4 separate regions of the Homo sapiens genome follow, and regions 1, 2 and 3 are each linked to region 4. Evidence: promoter capture Hi-C in 16 types of primary human blood cells and fetal thymus (Javierre and others, 2016). All regions are on one chromosome and are shown on one strand. The core of a region is centred on a gene start or on the middle of the fragment in contact, and the rest is flanking DNA. Distances in the headings are between cores, read along the strand shown.

Region 1 (3,023 bases), core at 515-3,014, 92 kb after region 4:
TTTAGATGCCTAATTCATGATAACTTTGAGTAAACTGTATACATATTTTCCTTCATAGAGTTACTAATGCAGGGTTTTTTCTGTATGTGTCAAGTTTTCTTAGGTACCAGTTTAGGTGCTAGTTTAGATGCTAGTTTTCCATAGAGGAGAAACTGATCAAAAAGGTTTAAACTCTTAAAACTCCTAAAGAAGTTTTAGTCATCTTCCTCAATGAAATTGTTTAGGAGTGTTAACTACTTTTAAACTACTGATTCAAATTTATAGTCTCACTGCTTTTTCATACTCCATGACATTGAAATCTATTGGCCCATTTGCACTTTGAATGGATCTTTTGTCCATTTGTCAAATGCCAAATAAGACAGTTGACATTATGCCTTATTCATTTGGAAAATATTTGTTCAGTGAATAATATAGGTCTTCTGAATGTTGACACATATCATTATACATTGAAAAAACCACATTTGTTAATATTGCCATTATTCTTATCAGAAAAGTATATATTGAGATGCTGTAAAACTCAAAGATAGATTCAAGTTTTCCAACATTCTAATTTTCTCTTGAAAGCTTCAGTTTTATCATTGGTGACAAATACTGTCACTTATTTCCTTTGGAGTGATAGTCTCACTGTTCATTTTTGAGAAAGCCTGTCTAATAATCAAGTCTGGATAACCATTGCTTATCTGTCAGTTGTTCTTTCAAGTAAAAATGATGTTCTTTGAAAAAAAAGTGGCTACTGTAGCTCACAACTCAAAGAGCGCAGACAAAATTGAGATGTTGTGAGACACAAGTACAGCATGGTTTATGTGTATTTCCTGTCACACAGAATATTAAAAGGATATATATGCAAATGTGGACACTAGAATTTTTACTGCTTCAAAAGGGACTTTTGTGAATAAAAGGCTCAAATCTCCCTCCTCCCTGAAGAATACAATGACTTCTAGTGTAATTTGAGTCTACTATCTTGATTCCTGTAAAGGGGCAGCAGTTTTATCCACTGTTGTTTTTGCACCATTAGTTTAACTGTAAACATAGTGGAAAGGCACATAATATCTTAGTATCATTATGCAAACAGTTTTGATGTTGTGAATACCCTGAGAGGATCTCTGCAAATCCTAGGGTCTGGAAACCACATTTTTAAGGATCTTCTGTTATATTAATGGAATTTGGGGTGTTTTGTTCTGAGAAGCTGGCAGAAATCAGGCTGCCTGCTGCTTCTCCTTGTGAGCACTCCCCAGCTGTTGATTAGTTATTAATAATCCTCATTAACTGAAGCTACTTACAAAGCAGATTCAGTTTTCTGGAGCTTGTTGAAGTATGAGAGGGTAAAGTTGTTCATTTTCATCCTATTCCCTGCACACCTAAGGACTCTGATCAGGTGACTCCCTCATCTGGGAAGGTTATGCCCGCCCCAGAAACTTTAAGGATTTGTACCTTTTATTTCTTTTGAATGTTTTATTTAGTTCTTCATCTTTTCCTTCCTTCCCTCCCTCCCTCCCTCCCTCCCTCCCTCCCTCCCTCCCTCCCTCCCTTCCTTCCTTCCTTCCTTCCTTCCTTCCTTCCTTCCTTCCATCTCACTGTATTTTGGGCAGGAGTGCGGTGGCGTGATCATAGCTCATTGTAAACTTGAACTCCTTGGGCTCAAGCAGTACTCCCACCTTGGCCTCTCAAAGGGTTGGGATTACAGGCATAAGCCACCACACTCAGCCTACTCTTTTCTTTTATAAAACTGCCCTCGTGTGAGTTTTGAGTTCTGAGTTTTGTTTAATTTTGTATTTAGACCTGCTATGCAGGCTTAGCAGTGACTTCTGAGTTCTGTTTAATTTCATATTTAAGCCTGCTTTGCAGTCCTTTTATCCCTTATGTTGTCTGTGTTTTAGCCTTTTATCTAATTTGTTTTTATTTCAAATTTATTTTTATCTTTATATTTGGCCTCTCCCTATTTCTACAACCCCTGCATGCATGCAAAAGTAAGAAGTGAGAAAAAACATTAAGTAAAAGGAAATTCATGTAAAAGAAATTAATGAAAGGCGGGGGTAAATGAATTAAAACTATCCCAAACCCTAAGCAGGAATTATTTGAGGCTATTTTTGTTCAGTTCTTCTGTAACTGGCCTATCAATTCCTCATGTTATTAGCCTGTTCTCCCACTGCTGATAAAGACATACCCAAGACTGGGTAATTTATAAAGAAAAAGAGGTTTAATGGGCTCACAGTTCCACATGGCTGGGGAGGCTTCATAATCATGGTGGAAGGCGAGGAGGAGCAAAGTCACATCTAACATGGTGGCAGGCAAGAGCATGTGCAGGGGAACTCCCCTTTATGTAAAACCATCAGATCTCGTGAGACTTAATCACTGTCATGAGAACAGCATGGGAAATACCCGTCCCCATGATTCCATTACTTTCCACTGGGTCCCTCCCATGACACATGGGGATTATTACAATTCAAGATGAGATTTAAGTGGGGACGCAGAGCCAAACCATATCATCCACATAGACTTTCTTCTCTTGACACTAGTTTTCAGGCTATCATCTTGTGTGTAGATGTAAATTGAATCATATAGTTCATAATGTTTTGTGTTTGGCTTCTTCAGTGTGTAACATTATATTTGAAACATCTATATTGATGCAGGCAACAGTACTCTGTTGATTCTTATTACTATATTAACATACCGTAGTTTATCCATGCTAGTGTTGATGAAAAATGGGGTTGTTGACAATATTTGGTCTTTTCAAATGCAGCTGTTAAGAAGATATTATATATGTACATTTAAAAGATTTTTACTGCATTGTTTTCCATTGTATGGATGTTCATAGAAAAATCCCAGTTTATTAGGTGTTTAATAAAATTTTTTTTTGCTGTTAAAACAATTTTGTAGTAAAAATAGGAGTGAGTCAAAGTATACACATATTTAGATGAATTAAGTTATGGAACTAAGGGAGAATAAGATGGACCGGGAAGCTTTTCAGTTCCAGTTTCTATGCCATACTTTTAGAGCACCTAAGAGAGTTTTTTGGAAGTTTC
Region 2 (3,002 bases), core at 247-2,746, 100 kb before region 4:
TCACTCTTTCCCAATTGCCTGCTACCATGGATAATTGAAAGTTGGCATGGTTACTCCCATACCAATTATCATTGGCCACAGATAAATTGCTATGATTTTTAAAATCATAGTTATTATTTTGCTCCATCTGTTCTCTTTATTTTTTAAGTCAGCTGTCAAATCAAACAAGTAAGTCCTTCCTAAAAATTGTAGAAGTTTAGTTTACATGTTACTAGGGTAAAGGAAACAATTGTATAACACGCTGATGTTCAGTAGAACTCTGCAAGGTGAACCAAGACAGAATTCACGGGAAGTAAGGTAACATGTAGACAGTTGCTTTAGAGTGATGAAGGGAAAGTGCTATATTTATAATAGCAGTATTTAACATACTTGCATTAGTTTTAAATAATAGGCATAATCACCAAGAAGCTTTAATCATGAAATCCTAAAAAAAAATTTCAACTTTGACTTGTTTTTTCCATTTATTCTTGTATCAGTTTTAGTTTAGATAAAGTTAATAAGTACATTTTGCTATGTAAAAGTACAAAACCATTCCTTGGTTTAATTATTTGATATATTGTGTTTCTTTTTTCCCATTCTAATTAAGATTTTTAAAATAATATTTTCCTATTACATATAAAGTATTTCTACCATTTCAAATTCAAAATATGTTTTGACACAGTCTGCAAGTCCCACTATATAAACCTAACTTTAAGAATTATATTTTAGGCCATGGGAGAAGGAAAAAAATGAAGTAAAGTTGATAAATCTGTTTAATCTTTCTACTCTACTGTTAATTTAAAATAAAATTTTATATCATTTGTGTTAGATTTATTATAAAATGGCCCCTTTTTTCACCTCTCCATATATTTACACCCTAGGCAATGTGTCCGTGCAGCTTCTCTCATCAGGAGGTGGAATCTATTTTCCTACTCCTTGAATCTAGGCTGGGTTTGAGACTGGCTTTGGCCAGTAGAACATGGTGGTGATGGAGGTGGGGGCAAGCTAGTTCTGAGCAAGGAGGCTAAAGAGGCTTTATATGCTTCTGCTTCCTCTTTTTGGATCCCTGCCTTCACCTTGAGGACAAGTCCAGGATAACTGTTGGAAGATGAGAGATCATCTGGAGTGGAGACATGTTGTCTAGCAGAGGCCAAACTAGCCCAGCCACCCTCAGCCAACCTGGCAACTGAGAAGAGATACACACTCTTGCCCCAGAATCTGCTGGGGATTGGTTCCAGGATCCCTGCTGATAACAAAGTCCATGGATGCTCAAGTCCCTTATAAAAAAGGAAGTAGTATTTGCATATATCCTCCCATATACTTTAAATAATCTCTAGTTTACTTATAATACCTAACACAATGTAAATGCTATGTAAATAGTTGTTAGATTATATTGTTTTTTATTTGTATTATTTGTTATTGTTGTATTGTTATTTTTAATTTTTATTTCTCAATATTTATTTTTGATTCATGGTTGGGTGAATCCACAGATGCATAGTCCCTGGATGCACAACCTGCCGATAACACAGGCGAATTGTATGAATGAACGTAGATAAGATCAACTAAGACAAAAAAAAATCACTGAGCTAAGCCTAGTGTAAATTTCTAAACCATATAATCACAAGCTAAATAAATGAACGTTTTAAGTCACTACGTTTTGGGGTGATTTGTCACATATCAGTAGCTAACTACTATAGCCTCCTGTCTTTTATTTACTTATTCACAAGAAAAATTAGGAATTAATATTACACAAATAAAGATATATAATAATTCTGTCAAATAAATTTTTGTCAAAATATTAAGATTTTATATTACTTTTGTATATTGGCTGCTGAGGATATTAACATTTATTGAACATCTTTTATTCACCGGCACTCATTTAATTCCTGCAGTCATTCTGTGAGGTAGTAATTAACTTTATTTTATAAAAGAGGAAACTATGATAAAGAAAGCTAGGAACATATCCAAGTTCACACAGCTGCCATTACAGAGCTGGACTGGAACACAGAACACAAAAATATGTGAATCCATTTATTTTACGATATGTCACCATCACTTTCAAAATAAACATCAAGTCTAGGCTCTTTCAGGAGTGGTACTCCAGAAACTAAGAATGTTGATTCCTTGTTGAGTGATCTAGATGCTGCCCCAGAATGTCCTGAATAATCGTTTACGTATATTATATAAACATCCTTATTTGGGCTTTTTCTCACTCAATACCAAATTTTAAGTGGCCCAAAGTCACAACCACTCATTCAAATTCTCATGTCCTGCATGTAATTACCATAACAACTGAATGAGAAATTGACAAAAGTAAAAAGATTTTTCAGGGTAAAAATCCTCATTTATTTAAAGCCATAACTGTTGTTTCTAGTAGCAAATGATCACTATTGATTTTCTGAGTTACTATAATTTCATGACATTTAATGCTAGAAGTCAATATTTTAGAAAGTTGCTTGCAGGTGACATTATTTATTTGTGGTACTAGTATAAAAATAGTCTGATTATCTAATTTCTGCTGTTACAAGTTAAATATAAAAGTTAAATCTATCTATCTGAAATAAATGAACAAAATGCTACCAAATAAATTATCCAACAAGCTTATGAGCCTAGGACTATATGAGACATATCATAATTGCTGATATATTTTTAATGCTGAAAACAAAAAAGCAACAGAATAACAAGAATGAATTCACTGCTGCTATTTTTAATATTCATTTGATAAGAAAACAATATCAATGATTAACCTATGAAATAGATAAGTGAAGACATTTTCTATTAAGCATTTTCCATTCCCCCATCACATCTTCAAAAGTAACCACTGAAGGCAAAAGGTGGCATATAAAATTAGTGCTAATAAAATCAATACTAATACAATCAGCACCAAGCCTAAATATATTCTATTTTAGGCTGGCTTACAAAAATTTGAATTATGTCATCTGAAAATTAGCTGATGTTGACTGGTGATAAAAGAAATACAAATGTTTTGATGCATGACTTTATTATAAATAACCCCAGATAGT
Region 3 (2,746 bases), core at 25-2,524, 87 kb before region 4:
CCCTAAATTATGCTTCTGTAGAAAGTACGAAGGACTTTCACTGAAGTGTTGCTGGCATTGGGGTGCTTTTCCGATCTTTCCTCAGCGAAGTTTTCTAACAGTCATTCTCTATTTCTCTTCTCTATTTCTGGCTTGGGGCTAAGTCCTCGAATTCTGAACAACTCAACAAACACTTATCCAGAACCAGCCAGGTACCATACGCTGGGTCAGTTGCTGGGATTAGAGATGAGACAGACCCCAAGTCCTTCTACTCCAGGAGCTCACATTTTAGCAGGGTGTATAGACACACTCTACATTGGTGATATAAATAAAGTGCTATGTGAGCTGAGTGGATAAGCTGTAATTTTGCCTGGTGGCCTGGGAGAATTCATGAAAAAAATGCATGTGTTTTGAGTTTAATAATCTGAAAATGCAGTGATGGAGATAGAAAAGAAAGATACCAATCATCTGTGATCATCTGCTCAAATCTTCTAGTCTTCCCTAACAGGTTCATTCAATACCTTACACCGGCTTTGGCAGTCCCTGATGTGTCTGGCTAAAAGCTCCTTTAGATAGAGCCACTTTAAGGAAACTCTAATATCTAAAATCATAGATGTCTTTATAAAATACCAGTTATATGTTTAAATCCACTGTTCAGTATCTACACCAAGAATAAAATAATTAGCCACTTAACTATGCAGAGAAACACAGAGTGTGTGAGCTTTCTTATGGCAATATTTTAATATTTACGTGCTAGAAGCTGGTAGTACATTAAACCAAACAGGAACATTAGCAGACTAGGTTCTTGAAATCTGACTGTTTAGCAAATAAAAGTCAAGTGCCTGGGTGCCAGATACATGGCATGTGGTGAGCTTGTCATCCATCTGTTGTGTTCCCTGCCAACTGCTCTACTTGGGGTGTGAGTGGAAGGCATTAGAAGGGAATAAGAAACCATTAAGAAATAAAATCAGCTGCAGAGTGAGCAAGTTTCTTTTTCTTTTTCCTGTCCTTCTATTACTTTGTCCTTCTTATGTTTCTGCTTATTTTAGTGCTATATTGTATCAATATATGTCTATAGATAAGACAATTAAATGACAGTTATTCCATGTAAGAGCAATAGTTTTTCACTGATAATTCAAGTTTTATTCTCCTACCTTTAACAAGTAAAGCCAACAAGTAGGCTTACAAAACTGTTTTCTTTGTGGTCATTTTTTTCTATGAATACTAATTATGATTAAAAATTCAATCCTGTGTGTAGATTTGACTATACCTTCACTCATTAGAGAATTTTCTAAATTACACAGATATACAGGTGATTCTCTGCTTAAGAGGTATTTTTCTCTAAAGTGGAAAACATTCTTGTTTTATAAAGCCTAACAATTTCATAGGCAGGAAGTATTCCATTGATAGAATAAAGCTAAGTTGTCTTTTTTTTTCCTCCTCATTTAATGGCCTCAATTTCTATAATAAATTGTCACATGCATTAGGCATTTTAAATTATGTTTTAAACTTAGGAAGTCTAAAATTAAGCACAGAAAAATTAGGTGAGGCTAGAAATATAGAGAGGAAGCCAAATGGCTTAAAATTCTCTAGCTTTTATACTACTTGCCTATAAGTTTCTGAGTCTCTGAAGCATTAATGCTACATCTGGACCAGCACTGTTAGAAAGTTCATTATAATTCACAACAGTGATTGGCCTTGTCTGCACTTACATAAACTGTAACAGCATCTGCCTTTATTTTCTGAAGCTGCAGTCTTCTCATAAAATGTCTTTTTAGGGAAAATCAAGATTCAAAGATCATAGTCATTTCATTTTCCAGCAGAAAAGAAATACAAAGACTGTTAGGGAACAATGGATCTGCCTCATTCAGTCTCATCTCACTGCAGTGCTGAGGGCTTCAGAGTTTATGGTGAAAAGACCCATCATACAAAGCATATCCTCATATAATGATGATAGTTAGTCCAGCTATTTTTAAGACATGCAGCTTGGCCACTCTCTCATCATGTTATCAGATGTACTTCTTAAGTGCTTTAATATATACAGCTTTTTTTACTTCCAGAAGGTTGATTTATTTTATATTTTTATAAAGCCATGGTACTAAGTTAAACAATTTTGTTTTTGATAAATAAATTATATATATTTATTTGGTGGAGAATGTAAGAGAAAAATTTCTACATTAGGTGTTGCATTAAGGTTAATCTGGAGAGTGCCCATGATTGAGCTGCCTGGACGTGGGCATGCAGGGTAGATTAAGAATCTCCAGAGAGTCAAGCGCGGAATGTTTGAAAACACACTTCAAATGTAACCTGTACTTGGAAACCAAGCAAATTTTTTTCCATGATACTTATTTTGGAAGGTAAAGCTAGACAAAACCCTCTCATTTGGTGAAAAACCATATGCATAATGATTCTTAATAGGTGAACACAATCTTATGAAGGTGGGGGAGTCAGAATCCCTAGGGTCAGATACAGTTTAAAAGGGGTCCTTGGATTTAAAGGGAAGGGACACAGCCCTCCTTGGAGCAGGATGTCCGAAGCAAACTGCAGTTCACTCACTAAACTGGCAGGCAAACAAATTTAAGATCTAATTCAGACCTGCCTGTGTAAATGAAATCTGAATATTTGAGGAGCTGTCCAGATGAGGTAATATGGCAAAGGGGCAAGAGCTATGGATTTCCATGGATAGAGGTTCAAATCCTGACTCTACTATTTTCTCCGTACCAAGTTAGGGGAAGTTTTTAATTTTTTTTCCCTCTCTCTCTCTAGA
Region 4 (2,960 bases), core at 257-2,756:
CAGATGTAAATTCCCCTACAGCAGAGTGATTATCCTCACATCTTAATCCTCCTCAGACTTATCCAAGCAGAAGATGGGACTGAGTCGTCTTGGAATTGGGGATTGAGGGAGGTGGCGCAATTTATTTCCCTTACTCTTCCATCTCCCAATCTCAAGCTGTGGCCGATGATCACTCTCTTGCCTCTATTCACGGATTGTTCTATTAAAACTACTTATTATCAGCATTCTGGGCCCTCCTCTTTTTGCTCTCCAGCCCACTGTCCCCTGAGGCTGACAAGGCACGCTGGTCCCCTCTGCCTCTTCACCTTCTCATCAAATGAAGCTCCTCGGGGGCTCCTGTGGCACCCGCCTGTCCCCCAGCTCCTCTGCCCACCCTCTTGCCGGCTTCCCGCTCCCTCCGTAACCTCTAAGGGGGTTCGCTTACGCGCCCGCCTGCTCTCGGGGAGCTAGCGTGCCCGACGGCGTGCTTGGTTCCGGGCCAACAAACTTCCTCGCGACCCTGCAGCGCCCTAGCTGGGCCGCCCGGCGCCGCCTCCTGGTTCTCGGCCGCTGTGGCTGCGGCGCCGGCGCGCTCTCGGCGGTGGCCTCGGGACTCTGACAGCGGAGGCGGCAGAGGCTGGGGCCGCGTCTTCCTCGCGCCGCGACTGGGACGTTCCGGCGGCGGCGGCGGTGGCTGCAGGGAGGACTGCGGGGACGGCGGCGGCGCTGTGGCCGACCGCGCTGCGCATGCTGCAGGGTAATTAAGGAACAGGGCCGGACGCTCCGGAACGTGGTGGGGCTGGAGTCCGGGAATCCCCGCCCGCGCCCGCGCCGCCCCCCAGAAGCCGCACTTGGGAAAAACACCCACATGTGGAGTAGGTAACCCCGGGCCGGAGGGCACCGCACCGGAACCCCGCGTCTCTTAGCTTACGCCGCTTAACTGGCTGCCTCGCTTCCAGGGCTAACACCGTCAAAAAAAAAAAAAAAAAGCGCTCTAACGGCATGAATTGATAGTGAGTTTGTTTTACTCCTTTAACCCCCCATTTTTTTTGTAATGTATTTGATGTCTGTCCCTACCCGCATCAGCAGTGCTCCATAGTTCCGCTTCACAGACACACATAGCCAGAAAAACCACCTAGAACTTAGGTGTAACGCATGAAGCCTGCATCATGTGAACATAGGAACACGAACTACATGGTATGTACCACATGAGAGTGGCCGTCTCCTGCCAAACGTTTTTGGTCCCATCCTTAAGGCCCCTATGGAAACGTATGCAGGTGTGCATTATTTATCCACCTAAACATATTTCCATGTGTAGCACAGTTTTTACATTTTCTTGAAAAGCAGATGCACACAGATAACTAGGAACACGAGCAGATGACATAGCCCGGGCATGTGTGAGAGGGCAAGTGCAGAGCCGGTCGCAAAGCCGCGCAGCTTACCTTGAATTCGTATTTGAGCCCCTCAGAGGCGCAGTGGAGTCCGGACAGGGCTGCGGCACCGCCGAGGAGTGAGCTCCCTGCGAGTGGGGAAGGGGGACGCATCTCTGCCCTTATTAGTCTCTCCCAGTGTGACCCTCCCACTCCGCGAGGACAGAGGACTCTGCAAGAAGGTACTCAGCCAACTCAGGCACAGGTTTTCTTTAATGACAGCGATGTCGCCTTAGAGCTGGGAGTAATGCCTTTCAGGTTTATGTTTTACTAGCAGTTTCACAGATAAAATGACGGTTGGATGCAAATGCCTAGAGTTTCTCACTTCTGATCATGAAGTGTCTTCAAAGTATTATTGTATGTGGCAAACGTTCACGAGTAGGTAATTGGCTTTTTAACGGTTGAGCTAAGAAAATATATCATTTATGTTTCATTTTTTCACTTTTATGTCAAGAGTTTATATAAAGTTGATTAAGGCAGTCTGCCCACCTTCTAATCACGCTCATATGTAAACGTTTGTGTGGCTTGGTTTTTCTCAGTGTCCACAGAAGTATTTTGTGATTTTAAATACATCTTTCCATGGGTTGGTGCTTCCAATCTTGGCTTTTGAACTCTTTTGGGATCCCTTTGAATATGTGAAAGTGTCATTTTCCTGCAGATTTCTGTGTAGGTGCATGTATGTGTGTGTAGAGAGAGTATATATATATTTGTAGGCATATATAGTAGGTTTATATACATATATAGGAGGTATATATGGATACTTGTAGGCATATATATTTGTAGGTATATATACATATATAGTAAATTTATATGTATACATATAGTGTATGCATATGTATGTGTATATATGAAAAACAGAATGATTTATAGAATTCAGAAGAGTAAACCAGGCATTAGAAAACAGATAAACTGGTTTTACATTTTTATTTCAGTATTGCCACAGTGGGAGAAATAGGATAAATTATATTATTGATCCACAATGGTGAAAATCATCAAGCTTAAAAGTTACCTTAGAACCATAGAAATACACTTCACATATCAGAGCTCACAGATCAAGGAATAAATAAAATCAGGCAGGCAAAAAATAAAGATGTTAAGAAAAATGTTAAAAGATAGCTCCTTTCCACTTCATTGGAGTGAAACCATTAAAGTATCACTTGTGATTTTTAAACTTCTCTCTCAACCTAATCAAGATACCTGCAGTTTTAGAGTTCGGCATTCATGGTGATGCAAACCATGTTTCTATGTCAGGATTTAAAACCACTTGATACATTTCCTTCTCATATGATTTTCATCACTAATTTTTGGCTGACTGTGGAAAGAGGCCAAGGAGGGAGGATATTGCATGAGTCACGCTACTCAAATGGCCATTTGAAAAACATGATTCACAAACCTTCATTAGACTTTTGGTGATCAGTCTCTATTTTTTTGAAGTATTATCCCATTTGATTTTTTTCTTTCTCTAAGCAATTTTACTTTATATACCTTGCCATCACTAATGAATTGAACTAAGAGCATCCAGGCTTTATTTCTTTGTCAGACTATTAAATT

The links. Contacts are between HindIII fragments. The CHiCAGO score rates a contact against its expected background, and 5 or more counts as called.
Region 1: a contact is called between a fragment that was not itself captured here and the fragment with the promoter of COL19A1 in region 4, in 2 of 17 cell types (naive B cells and total B cells). The highest score is 10.7, in naive B cells.
Region 2: a contact is called between a fragment that was not itself captured here and the fragment with the promoter of COL19A1 in region 4, in 2 of 17 cell types (naive B cells and total B cells). The highest score is 10.2, in naive B cells.
Region 3: a contact is called between a fragment that was not itself captured here and the fragment with the promoter of COL19A1 in region 4, in 2 of 17 cell types (total B cells and naive B cells). The highest score is 8.6, in total B cells.

Annotation. Positions count from the first base shown.
Region 1 is chr6:69,773,494-69,776,516 of GRCh38, reverse strand. The region is part of intron 3 of LMBRD1 (LMBR1 domain containing 1); the gene reads left to right. Among named protein-coding and RNA genes, the nearest start is that of LMBRD1, 22 kb to the left of the region's middle. The HindIII fragment of the contact is 2,396 bases long and covers 567-2,962 here.
Region 2 is chr6:69,967,964-69,970,965 of GRCh38, reverse strand. All of the region lies in intron 11 of COL19A1 (collagen type XIX alpha 1 chain), which reads right to left. Among named protein-coding and RNA genes, the nearest start is that of COL19A1, 100 kb to the right of the region's middle. The HindIII fragment of the contact is 2,171 bases long and covers 411-2,581 here.
Region 3 is chr6:69,951,800-69,954,545 of GRCh38, reverse strand. The region is part of intron 9 of COL19A1 (collagen type XIX alpha 1 chain); the gene reads right to left. Among named protein-coding and RNA genes, the nearest start is that of COL19A1, 87 kb to the right of the region's middle. The HindIII fragment of the contact is 5,402 bases long and covers 1-2,746 here.
Region 4 is chr6:69,865,102-69,868,061 of GRCh38, reverse strand. It overlaps COL19A1 (collagen type XIX alpha 1 chain), which reads right to left and starts at 1,506. Exons shown (of 51, transcript NM_001858.6): 1 at 1,422-1,506. RefSeq lists silencers at 469-538, 549-598, 819-868. The HindIII fragment of the contact is 9,714 bases long and covers 1-2,408 here.